Regions from separate parts of the Homo sapiens genome. Here regions 2 and 3 are each linked to region 1. Evidence: promoter capture Hi-C in human tissues and cell types (Jung and others, 2019). All regions are on one chromosome and are shown on one strand. The core of a region is centred on a gene start or on the middle of the fragment in contact, and the rest is flanking DNA. Distances in the headings are between cores, read along the strand shown. Region 1 holds the start of RBP7 (retinol binding protein 7). Region 2 overlaps UBE4B (ubiquitination factor E4B). Region 3 overlaps UBE4B (ubiquitination factor E4B).

Region 1 (4,911 bases), core at 879-3,378:
GACATATAAATCTTGAGCTGGACACAGTGGCTTACACCTGTAATCCCAGCACTTTGGGAGGCCAAGGTTGGAGGGTTGCTTGAGCCTAGGAGTTTGAGACCAACCGCCGGCAACACAGGGATACTCCATCTCTATAAAAAATTAAAAAAATTAGTCAGGCATGGTGGCACATGCCTGTAGTTGTAGCTACTTAGAAGGCTGAGGCAGGAAGATCACTTGAACTCAGGAGGTTGAGGCTACAGTGAACCATGATCATACCACTGCACTCCAGCCTAGGCAACAGAGCAAGACTCTATCTCAAAAAATAGTCAGTCTGGGTGTGGTGGCTCATGCCTGTAATTCCAGCACTTTGGGAAGCTTAGGTGGGTGGATCTTTTAAGGTTGGGAGTTCGAGACCTACCTGGCCAACATGGTGAAACTCCACCTCTTCTAAAATATATAAAAATTAGCCAGGCATGGTGGCAGGTACCTGTAATCCCAGCTACTCAGGAGGCTGAGGCAGGAGAGTTGCTTGAACCCAAGAGGCGGAGGTTGCAGTGAGCCAAGATTGCACCATTGCACTCCAGCCTAGGCGACAGAGTGAGAGTCTGTCTCAAAAAATAAAATAGAATAAAATAAAATAAAAAGAATAAATGAAAAAATAAATACCGCGGGTGCGGTGGCTCACACCTATAATCCCAGCACTTTGGGAGGCTGAGGCAGGCGAATCACGAGGTCAGGAGCTCAAGACCAGCCTAGCCAACATGATGAAACCCCCATCTCCACTAAAAATACAAAAAATTAGTTGGGCATGGTGATGGGCACCTGTGATCCCAGCTACTCGGGAGGCTGAGGCAGGAGAATCACTTGAACCTGGGAGGCGGAGGTTGCAGTGAGCCGAGATGGAACCACTGCCCTCCAGCCCGGGGCGATAGAGTGAGACTCCCTCTCTGCCGGGCGCAGTGGCTCAGGCCTGTAATCCCAGCACTTTGGGAGGCCAAGGCGGGCGGATCACAAGGTCATGAGATCGAGACCATCCTGGCTAACACGGTGAAACCCCGTCTCTAATAAAAATATAAAAAGTTAGCCGGGCGTGTTGGCGGGCGCCTGTAGTCCCAGCTACTCGGGAGGCTGAGGCAGGAGAATGGCGTGAACCCCGGAGGCGGAGCTTGCAGTGAGCCGAGATCTCTCCACTGCACTCCAGCCTGGGCACAGAGCGAGACTCCGTCTCAAAAAAAAAAAAAAAAAGAAAAAAGAAAGAGTGAGACTCTGTCTCAAAAGAAAAAAAATAAAAATAAAATCAATAAGTCAGTCTTGGAGCCAGCATATCTAGGCGGTGTTTGTGGCTAATGTTGTAGGTTAGCCCATATTCCCACCCCTTCTCCTTTGCTTTTCTCTGCTCTGAGGCTAAATGCTGCAGACTAGAATCCCCAGGCCCCCTTGCAGTTAGAAGTGGCATTGATACAGTTTTGGCTAATGAAATGTACACAGAAACCTGCTGGGTAATTTCTTTTCTTTTTTCCAACTATCCAGACTTATAGGAGATGGGGAGGTTTGTGCTGCAGGGATACTGACCTTTGGTGCTTTCCCTCTTCCCTACCTTGAATGTGGATGTCCTGGCTGGGAACCCAGCTGCCAGCTCATGACCAGGAGGTAACAAGCAGGAATAAAAGGCCACCAGAGTCACAGAGACGAAGCTGCGGCGTTACCGAGGTGCGAATCACTGTGATTCCTAGGTGCGAATCATCACCAGCAATCACTTCTCTCAGGACTCCTTGTTAAGAAAAATAAACTCCTATTTATTGAGACCATGAGAGTTACGTTGAGAGGTATATTGTTATTGAAGCTGACAATATTCAATGCCATGAGTTTGAAGATCATCCCTGGGTCATTAACATATAAGCAGGGAAGAAAATGTGGCCCGAAACAGTCTGGGACATGAGAAAGCAGTAGGAGAGGAAGCCCCAAGGAAAGGGGGAAGCTGCCGCGCGGTGGGCAGAGCCAGGAGCACCGGGCTGAGGCGGCCGGGAGCGCAGCGGCTTCTAGGGGTGAGTGGGACCCACGCGGCCCCACCTGCTCCTCCCGCGCGCGGCCCCACCCCCCTGCCCCGCCCCGCCTGGTTTATAGGTCCCGGCCCGAGCCTCCGGCCGCCCGCCGGGTTTGTCCCGCGATCCCCGACCATGCCCGCCGACCTCAGCGGTACTTGGACCCTGCTCAGCAGCGACAACTTCGAGGGCTACATGCTGGCCCTAGGTAAGGCGGAGGGGAGGCGGCGGCGGCGCGAGGCTCGCCGTGGGTCTCGGGATCAGGCGAAGGCGGCCGGGCCGGGCCTGTAGGTACGTCCTCTGTCCGTGCCTCCGCCCTGCTGCGCCCACCGTCGCCCAGTCGCCCCCGAGTCCGCTGGTCCTTGGCGCCTCCGTCCATCGGGCGCGGGACCCCAGTCCTTCAGTCCCCCAGTCCGTCCTTTCCCGCGCCCACCCGCCCCCCTGTCCCCACGGCCGTCTCTCCACGCCCTCTGTTCCCCCGGCCGTCGGTCCCCCACCCGTCCGTCCCTGAGTGCCCGCGTCCAGCCCCACGTCCGTCTCTACCCGCACGCGGCACACCTGCGGAGACTGCAGACTCGGGGTCCGGCCGGGGAGGGGGGTCCGGCCGGGGAGGGGGCGCCCGGGACCGAAGCCTCTGCCCGGCCACCCTCCCCGCAGCCGCCTTCCGTGCAGGCCCCGGGGCCCCGGGCGCGCTCCCGCAGCGAAGTCCCAGCAGCCTCGGCGCACCCGGAGCGGGTCGGGGATGCAGAATCCTGGAGCCAGCGGACGACCCTTCAGGTCCGGGCACCCGCGGGAGTGCAGAGCCTGGTTCGGCCCGGGGCGTGCCCCGACCGCCGCCTCCCACGAGGGCTGGGTGCCCGCGGCGTTCTTGCTCCCGGGGGCCCCGCGCTGTGCTTCCCGCCCTCATCGCGGTGCCAACGGTGCGCGGACTCTCAACTCACTGCAACCTCCGCCTCCTCGGTTCAAGCGATTCTCCTGCCACAGCCTTCCAAGTAGCTGGGATTACACGCGTGCGCCAGCCACCACGTCCGGCTAATTTTGTACTTTTAGTAGAGAAGGGGTTTCACTATATTGGTCAGGCTGGTGTCCAACTCCTGACCTCAGGTGATCCACCCGCCTTGGCCTCCCAAAGTGCTGGGATTACAGGTGTGAGCCACGCGCCCTGCCACGAGTGTAGTTTTTCTTGTAGCTTTAGGAATCTGGGAAGTTGCCGTGCCGGCCAATCCCTGAACCCTTGACCCGTGGGCAATTTTTGTTTTCTTTTTTTCTTTCTTTCTTTCTTTCTTTTTTTTTTTTTTTTTTGAGACGGAGTCTCGCTCTGTTGCCCAGGCTGGAGTGCAGTAGTACGATCTCGGCTCACTGCAAGCTCCGCCTACCGGGTTCACGCCATTTTCCTGCCTCAGCCTCTCCGAGTAGCTGGGACTATAGGCGCCCGCCACCACGCCCAGCTAATTTTTGTATTTTTTAGTAGAAACGGGGTTTCACCATGTTGGCCAGGCTGGTCTCGAACATCTGCCCTCGTGATCTGCCCACCTTGGCCTCCCAAAGTGCTGGGATTACAGGCGTGAGGCACCGCACCGGCCAATTTTTGTTTTCTTAACCTTAGGGCCCATCTTAGTTGATAAAGGGGCATTTATTTTGCTCTTTCATATCCCAAGAGATAAGAGTGTTCCTCTGGGTATGGGAAAAGCACCTCTCACTTGAGAGTCTTATGATCTTCTTCAGAGGAAGAGCAGAGAATTCTTTTATGGCCTGCTTCAGGGAAGAGGGGCAAAAGAAGGTCTGAGGGGGACCTTCCTGCTACTGTTATTTCCTCAAATGCCAAGTGATATGGTTTGGCTGTGTCCCCACCCAAATCTCATGGGAGTTGTAGTTCCCATAATTCTCATGTGTTGTGGGAGGGACCTGAGGAGAGGTAATTGAATCATGGGGTAGTTTTCCCCACACTGTTCTGGTGGTAGTGAATGTCTCATGAGATTTGATGGTTTTACAAGGGGTTTCCCCTTTCATTTGGCTCTCATTCTCTCTTGCCTGCCACCATGTAAGACGTGCCTTTTGCCTTCTGCCATGATTTTGAGGCTTCCCCAGCCACGTGGAACTGCGGCAGTTAAACCTCTTTTTCTTTATAAGTTACCCACTCTTGCCAGGCTCGGTGGCTCACGCCTGTAATCCCAGCACTTTGGGAGGCTGAGGCGGGTGGATCAACTGAGGTCAGGAGTTCAAGACCAGCCTGGCCAACATGGTGAAACCCCGTCTCAACTAAAAATACCAAAAAGAAATTAGCTGGGCATGGTGGCGGGCGCCTGTAATCCCAGCTACTTTGGGAGGCTGAGGCAGGAGAATCACTTGAACCTAGGAGGCAGAGGTTGCAGTGAGCTGAGATGGTGCCATTGCACTCCAGCCTGGGCAACAAGAGTGAAACTCTGTCTAAAATAATAATAATAATAAGTTACCCACTCTTGGATATGTCTTTATCAGCAGCGTGAAAATGGACATAAGGTGCCATGTTCTGAGGTCGCCTATCCAGAAACCCTTAAATCCAGAACGGTTTTCTGAAAACCAGCAACTGTGTTTCAACTTCAGATCTAATTTGTTAAAGTACTAAGTACTTACATCAATTTGTTAAAGTGCTAAGTACTTAGGTCACACTTATAGCACTAGAGTGGTTGTTTACATAATACTGTAATACTCTTTTTTTTTTTTTTTTTTTTTTAGATGGAGTCTGGCTCTATTGCCTAGGCTGGAGTGCAGTGGCGCGATCTCGGTGTGAGCCACTGTGCCCAGCCATAATACTATAATACATTTTATCTTAAGAATTAAGTTGGTCTGGGTGCAGTGGCTCACACCTGTAATCCCAGCACTTTGGGATGCTGAGGCAGGTGGATCA
Region 2 (4,911 bases), core at 1,324-3,823, 110 kb after region 1:
CTTGGACTTAATAGTTTTATTACTATCTATAAAACATATCTAGACTAAGAAATATTAACCCAGTTGCATTTGTAGTATAATAAAGTAACCTCTATAGTTGGGAGTAGCTTCTTTTTACAATTAATATACATCAGCGGTAACTCTCAATGACTGTACCCCAACTTTCTTTTTAATAAACTTTTAATTTTGGAATAGTTTCAGTTAGTGCAGGGAGTTCCTATATATACTTTACCCAGTTTCCCCTGACGTTAATATCTTATATAACCATGGTACATTTGTCAAAACTAAGAAATTACTACTAACTAAACACAAGGCTTTATTTAGGTTTTCCACTAATATCCTTTTACCATTCCAGAATCTAATCCAGGATACTGCATCGAACCATTTGGGGTCAGCTGGCTTATTCAAGGGCTGTGTAACCTGTGTTCGAACTGTGTGTAACCTGTTCTTTGTTCTGCCTTTCCAACAGTATTCTCCGATTTTAAGGACTTGATTGGCCAGATTTTAATGGAAGTGCTAATGATGTCCACTCAGACCAGAGATGAAAACCCATTTGCCAGTCTGACAGCCACATCACAGCCAATTGCTGCAGCAGCACGGTCACCAGACAGAAATCTCTTGCTAAACACTGGCTCCAATCCAGGAACAAGCCCCATGTTCTGCAGCGTGGCTTCCTTTGGTGCCAGCTCTTTGTCTAGGTCAGTGTGGTTCTCTTTGCACATCTTACTGGTAGTAAAATAACTGTGAACTACGTAGGAGAAGGGAATGTTTGTTGACAGTGTTAATCAGTGTCATACAGGGTATGGCATATATCATATTTGGGGAGGTGGATTTAGTCATTGGAAGTGGAATTCTCTTTTCTAGATTATTATTTTTTGGCTCTCTATGGTTAAGATATTGCTAGATGAAATTTTAGAAGCAGTTGGCTGTGTATACTACATCATTCTTCGAATGGGGACTTTATCGTCTTGTAAGTATAGCCTCTAGATCAATAGGGCAATTAGATTATAATTATTTAGATGTTTATCTGCTAGATATACTTGAACTGAAATGATTCTCCTTTAAAAGCTTGATATTTTCTGTTTTAGTTAGTTATCTCAAGTTTTTCTTTGATTTTTCTCTTCTTTCCTCCCTTTCTCAACTAATTTAGCCTCTATGAAAGTAGTCCGGCTCCCACTCCCAGTTTCTGGAGCTCTGTTCCCGTGATGGGCCCGTCTCTTGCCTCACCTTCCCGTGCAGCCAGCCAGTTGGCTGTGCCTTCCACTCCCCTCAGTCCTCACAGTGCAGCCTCTGGAACTGCTGCGGGAAGCCAGCCTTCATCCCCGCGGTATCGCCCCTACACTGTCACTCACCCATGGGCGTCCTCAGGCGTCTCCATTCTGTCGAGCTCCCCAAGTCCCCCTGCCCTCGCCAGTAGCCCCCAAGCAGTGCCCGCCAGCAGTTCCAGACAGAGGCCCAGCAGCACGGGTCCACCCCTACCACCCGCCTCACCCAGTGCCACGAGCAGACGCCCCTCCTCCCTGAGGATCTCTCCTAGGTATTTATCCCACAGGAGAGTTGCATGTGTGTTTGCGGTGCAGGGAAAGGAGATTAACACGGTTTGGAAGAAGTGCTGTGTGACACTGACTCTGTTAAATTGTTGTTTTGGGTTATTAACCTGTGTGGCTAACTAGTTTGGTAGGCACGTACTCTGAGTCCATGCTTCTGCCAGGCTCTAATCATGCTGGAAAGTTTGGGTTGCTCTATTCTATTGTGAATCCCTTTCTTCCCTTTGAGAGTTGGGGCACACAGGAACCCTTTTTGGCCTTTTGTCCTGTTGCCAGTGGTAGTTGAAATGCTATCAGACCAAGCAGGTGTGGGAGCAAATCTGGGCCTGGTGTTTTTTACTTCTGGTGAGTGGGGTGGGTCGGTTCATGTCCTGACGTGTTGAGTTTTAGTTATATGTAAGTTCAGTCTCTTAGAAGGAAGCAGTATCAGAATTCCACTAATCCAGTGGCCCCTTCTCTCAAATGTACCTGTATGTGTTTCTATAATTTAGGTGAATTATGTTTCTGCATGTCAGTGGCCAAAAGTTTTAGTGTATGGTTTATTTAAAAGGACAGCAGTTGCAAAAGCTTCTCCCCGTCTTGTTTTTTCTTTGTTCTCTGATGGCCTTTTTTGCTTTTGTTGTGGTAGTATGTACGACAATCCTTTCTCCTTCCTCTTCCTCGCACTTTCTGGGGACAGTAGTGATGAAGAAGATGAAGAAGAAGATGATGATGATGGTGATGGTGATGATGAAGGTGGTGGTGGTGGTGATGATTTTTCTTGTGTCCAGTTTGGGTCCAGGTATCAGAGGAATGGAGTCTTACCCCTGCATGTGCGTAGATGCTTAGGAACTAACTTCTATAAGCTCTAACAAGGGGCGTGCTTTGAATCCAGGCAGGATAGGGTCAAATGAGGTGGGCTCCAGAGTATATTGATGTGTTCAGACCTTCTCATGGGATAAAGTAGCACATAGGAGAATTTTCTTTTTTTCTTTCTTTCTTTCTTTTTTTTTTTTTTTTTTGAGGCAGAGTTCTGCTCTTGTTGCCCAGGCCGGAGTGCAATGGCGCAATCTCGGCTCACGGCAACTTCCTCCTCCTGGGTTCAAGTGATTCTCCTGCCTCAGACTCCCAAGTAGCTGGGATTACAGGCACCCGCCACCATGCCCGGCTAATTTTTGTATTTTTAGTAGAGACAGGGTTTTGCCAGGTTGGCCAGGCTGGTCTCGAACTCCTGACCTCAAGTGATCTGCCCGTCTTGGCCTCCCAAAATGTTGGGATTACAGGAGTGAGTCACTGTGTCTGGCCCCAGAATTTTCAGAGTTGTCGCCTGGCAAGTTTGGAGGAAAACTTTATGTATAATCATTTTTCAAAAGCATGAAAACAGATTAAAGATCAGTCATCAAGTTTATCCACCTTTAGATCTAAAATGAGGGACCCTTCATTTATCTATTGCGAGAATGTTATTGTGAACTACCAGATGTGACAACTTGTACTCTCTGAGGCATGTTTTCTTAAGTACAGTTGCATGAATTGCTGCTATTTAGTAACGGGAGAGGGGCTGGGATTTGGGGGAGGTGTGTGTGTGTGTGTGTGTGCGTGCGTGCTCCCTTCCCACCCCCTCCCAGCCTCCACCGCCCCCCTGTTCACCCCCATTGAGCTCAGTCTGGGCAATCCATCGAAGAACATATGAGGTCATACCATCTGCATAACTGTGACTTTGCTTTCATGTCTAGCCTTAAATTTCTCTTAGCACCTCCTGGACCTCAGTGAAGCCAGACCCCATTTGTTTAAAGAGCCTTTGAAATGACCGCAGAGGCTGAAACATAGTTCCGGATGTTGCTGAATGTTTACCCCTGGAAACCGAGTGAAAAGCACTACTTGGGTTGTGTAGGTGACTTTGAGCAAGAGAATATAATAGCACCTTCTTTCTAATCCTCTGACTCATTGTCTTACAATTTTGCTCTTAAATTGAAGTTTCCTGTGGACTGAGTTGGTGTTTGTGCCCAGCACTGTTCAAAAATAACTCCAGGCTATAAATAGAGACTGCAGTAGGAGTTAGGTACACTTCATTCAATTCGATGGTGTTCAGAAGAATCATTAGAGAATACGTAAAGAGACAGAGGAATGTTGATGCAAGGTTGAATATTGATTCAGGAAGGTTGATATTTGTATTACGCTGAACATTTTATCACCATTTCTCAAGTAAATTTCCCAAAGGTGAAAGTGTCTTTTTCACGTAGATAAAATCCTATTGCATGATTATAGTAATAAAGCAGGCATCCTTCCTAGGAACCAGTTTCCACATGGTAAAAGTGCTGTGTTACCTGTTTTACTGTAAATTTTCTGTGGGAGAAATTCTCTCTCCCTGGCCTATTTAGTTGTGACTTTCTCTAACAACCGTATCAGATTGTGTGCTGCTTTTACTAATACCTCTCTTTCTGGACTTCTAACACCCCAGCCTTGCCTCAGATCTAAATTCTCTCCCTACTAGGAGGAATAAAATGTACCAAGTGTATAAAAATAGCTGCAAATACTCATGGAGCATTGTGCGCCAGATGTGGTGTCAGCTCTGTCCATGTATCAGCCCCTTTACTCCTCGCTGTAGCCTGCTGTGAGGAAGTGGCAGGGGGAACGGGGGGGCCGGGGGGACAGACAAGAGGGTCAAAATCATAGAAATGCATTCAGACTTGAGCATCCTGAATCCAGACTCATGTTCACCACCGCACCGTGCTGCCACCCACTTTTCCATTTCTGCCCAAATAGGTCTTGTTTGTTCTTGTTCCTTACTACTGTTTTTGCTGCCGAGAGTCTGTGCATCTACTCGGTTCCTTTGGCAGGGAAGTGCCAGCATTTCACTCCTTAATTACAAAATGCCATCCCAGTCAGTTGATATGTCCCTTGTTGGCCGTTACAGTGAACTGTGATCATCCAGATTTTGGCAGCTTATAGGTTCTTAGTTGATATAAAAAAGAATGCCAAAGCATGGGTAAAAATACATGACATAACTATGTAAACAAGTAGAAGAACTTAGGGTTCTTCTAAGTAGGGTCAGAGCCAAGATGAGCTAGCAAAAAACCTTGTTACTTTTTTTTTTTTGAGACGGAGTCTTGCTTTGTCACCCAAGCTGGAGTGCAGTGGAGCGATCTCGGCTCACTGCAACCTCCACCTCCTGGGTTTAAGCAATTCTCGTGCCTCAGCCTCCCAAGTAGCTGGGATTACAGGTGCATGCCACCACACCTGGCTAATTTTTGTATTTTTAGCAGAGACAGGATTTCACCATGTTGGCCAGAGTGGTCTCAAACTCCACACCTCAGGTGATCTGCCCACCTCGGCCTCCCAGAGTCTCAAACTTCTGACCTCAGGTGGTCCGCCCACCTCGGCCTCC
Region 3 (4,911 bases), core at 1,421-3,920, 76 kb after region 1:
AGATGCCATGTCTACAAAAAATTAAAAATTAGGTGGGTGTGGTGGTGCATGCCTGTAGTCCCAGCTACTTGGGAGGCTGAGACAGGAGAATCGCATGAACCTGGGAGGGGGAGGTTGCAGTGAGCCGAGATGGTGCCATTGTACTCCAGCCTGGGTGACAAGAGCGAAACTCCGTCTCAGAAAAAAAAAAAAATTACATGCTACACAGAAGACTATATTTAACATATAAACTATGAAGAAGAATAAGATGAATACCCATGAACTGATTACTCATAGTTGTAAGTATACAACCCAGTGAGTTTTCATAAAGTGGACATAGCTGTGACATTAGTATCCAGTTAAAATTAAAAAAAAAAAAAAAAAACCATTACCAGATCCCTAGAATCTCACTCCTGCCTCTCCCGAGCTGCTTCCTGCCCCTTTCCCACCAAGGATAACCATTATCCAAACTAATGGTATAGTTTAGTTTTTCTTATTTTCAAATTTTATAGAAATGGAATCATCCACTCTGTTTTTTTTACATCTGGCTTCTTTTGCTCAGGGGACATGGGTAAATCTGTTAGGAAGCTTTTGGAGATGCCCTGCTGTTAGTAGGAGTTCAACAAACACATTTTGAATGAATGGATTAATTTTTCTCTTTCAATAAGATGTTGCTCTTTAATTATATGTTAAAAGGAAGAAGTGGCAGATTGTATTTTTATTGAATCAAGTAAAAAAAGAAAATCTGATCATTTTGCTCCTACAAGTGATGGTTAAATTTGTGTCTTAGTGTAACTTTTGTTTCTCATTGTTTTAGTGAATTAAATTGGCTATTTATTCATTAATTTATTTTGGAGGTGGAGTCTCCCTCTGTTGCCCAGGCTAGAGTGCAGTGGTGCCATCTCAGCTCACTGCAATTGCCCTCCACCTCCCGAGTTCAAGTGATTCTCCTGCCTCAGTAGCTGGGATTACAGGCACGCATCACCACACCTGGCTAATTTTTGTATTTTTAGTAGAGACAGGATTTCACCATGTTGGTCAGGCTGTTCTCGAACTCCTGACCTCGTGATCCTCCTGCCTCAGCCTCCCAGAGTGCTGGGATTACAGGCGTGAGCCACCACACCTGGCCAATTGGCTATTTATTTTTAAATCTTACCTATTTGAAATGACCAAGTTAGGTCATTTTATTAAAATAACAACAAGCTTTAGTGTGTTACAAGCATAGGCTGGGCATGGTGCTTCATGCCCATAATCCTAGTACTCTGGGAGGCCAAGGTGGGAGGATCACTTGGGGCCAGGAGGTTGAGACCAGCCTGGGCAACATAGTGAGACCTCGTCTCTGTCAAAAATTAAAAAAAATTAATTAGCTGGACATGGTGGTTTGCACCTGTAGTGTTAGATACTTAGGAGGCCGAGGTGGGAAGATTACTTGAGCCCAGGAGTTCAAGGCTGCAGTGAGCTATGATTGAAATACTGCACTCCAGCTTGGGTGACAGAGAGACTCTCTCTAAAATGAAGTGTAATATGCTTACCGTAAATTCGCCATGTCAGCCAAGGAGGTGTGATAAACAGAGATGGTAAGGGAACTAACATACAGTATATACGTATTTATGTATGTATTTATGTATGTATGAATTAGAGGTGGGTTGTCACTGCTTTGCTCAGGCTGGTCTTGAACTCCTAGGCTCAAGCGATTACCCCCACCTCACCCTCCCAAGTAGCTGAGACTATAGGCAGGCACCGCTGAACCTGGCCAAAATACAGTTGTTAAAAACTCAAGTGATAGAGCTTGTAGGAATACTGGTAGAGCGAGTTATTCTCTCAGAAGAGTACTTTTGCTGAAGGCATATTGAGTTGTTAAACTCTGGTTTGGTTATGAATAATGTCATTCTCTGGCAGAATTGTGTTTCTGCTGATTAGTTATAGAATGCCCTTTTCCCCTCATGTTGTAGATTCGACGGAGGCGCCTTGCACGACTTGCTGGTGGACAGACCTCTCAGCCAACCACCCCACTCACCTCTCCCCAGAGGGAGAACCCTCCGGGGCCTCCCATAGCGGCATCAGCCCCAGGACCCTCTCAGAGTCTTGGTCTCAATGTCCACAACATGACCCCAGCTACCTCCCCAATAGGTGCATCAGGTAAGCCCAAGCTTCATACCTGGGACTCTTTTGTAATTCTTCTTAGCTTTTTGTTAAGCTGATGGTTGTGATGTTTCCAGAACAGATTAAAATGAAGCAGACATCAGCTCTTTAAAATCCTCCAAGCAGTAGTTTAAATATCATTGCAATGTGTTGTGTTATCGCTTTTTTTTTTATTGCAATCTGTTAAACCAATTGCTTTTCTTTCCATAACTTCCATCTTTTTTTTTTTCAAACAGGTTTAGGTATTATCTCTGATGACAAGATGATTAAGACTGAATTTGGTTCTGCTGATTTTATGAATTTGGTTGATGGTTTTAAGATAAAATAATCTGAAAATGCAAGATTAAAATAATGGTCAAAATGAACACCTCTAATTGCAGATTTCCTCGTCTTCATTCTGCATTGGCACAGAACTTTTTCTTTAACTTTTCAGAGGATAAAACTACCTGATAGGATGTTTAGAACTATCTCATTAAAAAGTAAAAGTTTATTTCTTTATAATAAATGAGCTGATGCTTGATATCCAGGACTGTCTTTGTTGGGAAATGATATTTCTCATACTGTGTATTTGAAAATATCTCTCTTTTGTCTGTGAACTTTTCTATCAAATATAGTATTATTGTCATATAATAATAATTACTATTTTATAATTAGGATTCTAGTTGCGTAAAGGGGGTGCTAAGAGAACTGCATTGATCATAATATCATCTAATAATTTGATAGCCTTCTGAATCATCTGTCTTCTTGATCTAGAATCGTGTCAATTAAAAGTATTTGCAGAGTTTTTGTTGCTGTACTTCTCGTTAGGTATCAGTGTAGACTATAGATATATATAAATGTTTATACCTAATGTGGTTCAACCAAAACATCTGTTAGTAATAAAGAAGATCCTTGCCTATAATGTTTCCTCTGTATGTCTCTGAGAAGCTCTGATGGTCTTCTGGTAGGATTGATGGGTTCAGGATTCCAAATGTGATTTTCCTTGGACACAGTACTGACAACAGTGCTCTTTGCCTCACCCTGGTCAGGCCATACCTGGAATGCTGGAATCTGTCCTGGAGAGAACCTCTCTCACTTTGTCTTACTTGCTTATTTAAACCAGGATCTTGGTTAAATCCCATTCCCCACCTACACTGGAATAAGGCTATAGAAAAACTCAGAACCATTTGAACTAATTGAAAACTTTTGAAATGTCTGTCTCATTTCGAATTCATGATTACATGGCTGGGTGTGGTTGCTCATGCCTGTAATCCCAGCACTTTGGGAAGCCAAGGTGGGTGGATCAGTTGAGGTCAGGAGTTTGAGATCAGCCTAGCCAACATGGTGAAAGCCCGTCTCACAAAAAAAATACAAAAAGCCGGGTGTGGTGCTACCTGCCTGTAATTCCAACTACAAGAGAGGCTGAGGCATGAGAATTGCTTAAACCCGGGAGGTGGAGGTTGCAATGAGCCAAGATTGCGCTACTGCACTCCAACCTGGTGATGGCGTGAGATTCTGTCTCAAAAACAACAACAACAACAACAACAACATCAAATTCATGATCACAAACTCGGGTAGACCCTTGATACTGGCAGGCTGTTGCACCATGCTTCCCAGTTCACTCACTCTGCTGATCTGTTTCATACCTTCTCGAGTGTGCAGTACCTCATTCTCCATGCTCACTCTCTCAGCTAGTGGCCTGGCTTCCCATTTCTTTCTTTCTATTTTTTTTTTTTTTTTTTTTTTTTGGAGATGAGGTCTCACTGGGTTGCCCAGGCTGGAGCATGGTGGCTGTTCATAGGCGTGATCCTAGTGCACTACAGCTTAAAACTCCCAGGCTCAGATGATCCGTCTGCTTCAGTCTCTCATGTAGCTGGGACTATAGGCATGTGCCACCACACCTAACTCTGGCCTCATATTTCATTGAGAAAACAGATGCAGGCAGAACCTAGGCAGGGAACCTCCATCAGCCTCAGTCATCACATCCATCTGCCTACCTGTATGTGCGCCTGGTTCTTGTTATGCACAAATTGTCCCTGCTGCTGTTGAAGCTTGGACCCTAGATCCCATCTCCCTTCAGTTACTCAGCCTTCACTCCAGCAGTTCCTTTCTCTCTCTTGCTTCATCAGATTTTCCATCTCATATGGCCTTTTTTTTTTTAACAGCCTATATAATGCCATTACTTTTCCCATCATGGGAATGAACAAAAGGAACTCTCTTGATCTAATTCCCCCTGCCAGCTTCTCCCCCACATCTCTGCACCAAAACCTTTGCAGCAGAACTTCCGGAATGAGTTGCCTGTCCTCTCCATCCCCTTCTGCCCTTGCACTCTTTGCTGAATCAACTGCAGTCAGGCGAGGGTTCCCGTGGTTGCTCTGTGGTTGCTCTGAGTCACTGTCTGGTCTGACCCATCAGCCTCATTAGACATGGCTTTCACCCACTTCTCCTGGAAACACGTTTTTCTTTTGGCTTCCAGAACAGCACATTCTCCTGGTTTTCATGCATTCTCTGTATCTGTTCCTTCTTCACTCTTTGCCTGGTTCCTTTTCATTTCCCTGACTTCTAAATGTTAGGATTCAAGGGCTCAATATTTAACCTCTTGTCCTTTCCATCCAGCTTTATTCTCTTACTGTTGTCATCCAGTGTCCTGGCTTTAATTACCCTCATTTGATGATTCCTAAGCTTTTATCTCCAACGTGGACCTGCTCCTTGAACCTCAGATTGACACATCCAGCGCTTTACCTGACATCTCTGCTTGGATGTCTAACAGGCATGTCACAGCTAGCATGCCCCAAATCAAGCTTTGCTGTT

The links. Contacts are between HindIII fragments. The study calls those that stand out against the background at their distance.
Region 2: a fragment that was not itself captured here is called in contact with the fragment with the promoter of RBP7 in region 1 in 2 of the 25 tissues and cell types used here (IMR-90 fibroblasts and pancreas).
Region 3: a fragment that was not itself captured here is called in contact with the fragment with the promoter of RBP7 in region 1 in 2 of the 25 tissues and cell types used here (H1 embryonic stem cells and aorta).

The regions. Positions count from the first base shown.
Region 1 is chr1:9,995,100-10,000,010 of GRCh38, forward strand. It overlaps RBP7 (retinol binding protein 7), which reads left to right and starts at 2,129. Exons shown (of 4, transcript NM_052960.3): 1 at 2,129-2,232. The coding sequence starts at 2,160. LOC124903840 (basic salivary proline-rich protein 2-like) reads right to left here and starts at 2,990. Exons shown (of 2, transcript XM_047436754.1): 1 at 2,583-2,990; 2 at 1,620-1,753. The coding sequence starts at 2,931. The coding sequence ends at 1,620. It also overlaps a transcript of NMNAT1 not described here. RefSeq lists a silencer at 3,878-4,078. The HindIII fragment of the contact is 9,171 bases long and covers 1-4,911 here.
Region 2 is chr1:10,105,047-10,109,957 of GRCh38, forward strand. It overlaps UBE4B (ubiquitination factor E4B), which reads left to right. Exons shown (of 28, transcript NM_001105562.3): 6 at 470-698; 7 at 1,151-1,537. Among named protein-coding and RNA genes, the nearest start is that of UBE4B, 75 kb to the left of the region's middle. RefSeq lists an enhancer at 3,678-4,178. The HindIII fragment of the contact is 4,865 bases long and covers 142-4,911 here.
Region 3 is chr1:10,070,097-10,075,007 of GRCh38, forward strand. It overlaps UBE4B (ubiquitination factor E4B), which reads left to right. Exons shown (of 28, transcript NM_001105562.3): 2 at 1,932-2,118. Among named protein-coding and RNA genes, the nearest start is that of UBE4B, 40 kb to the left of the region's middle. The HindIII fragment of the contact is 3,592 bases long and covers 875-4,466 here.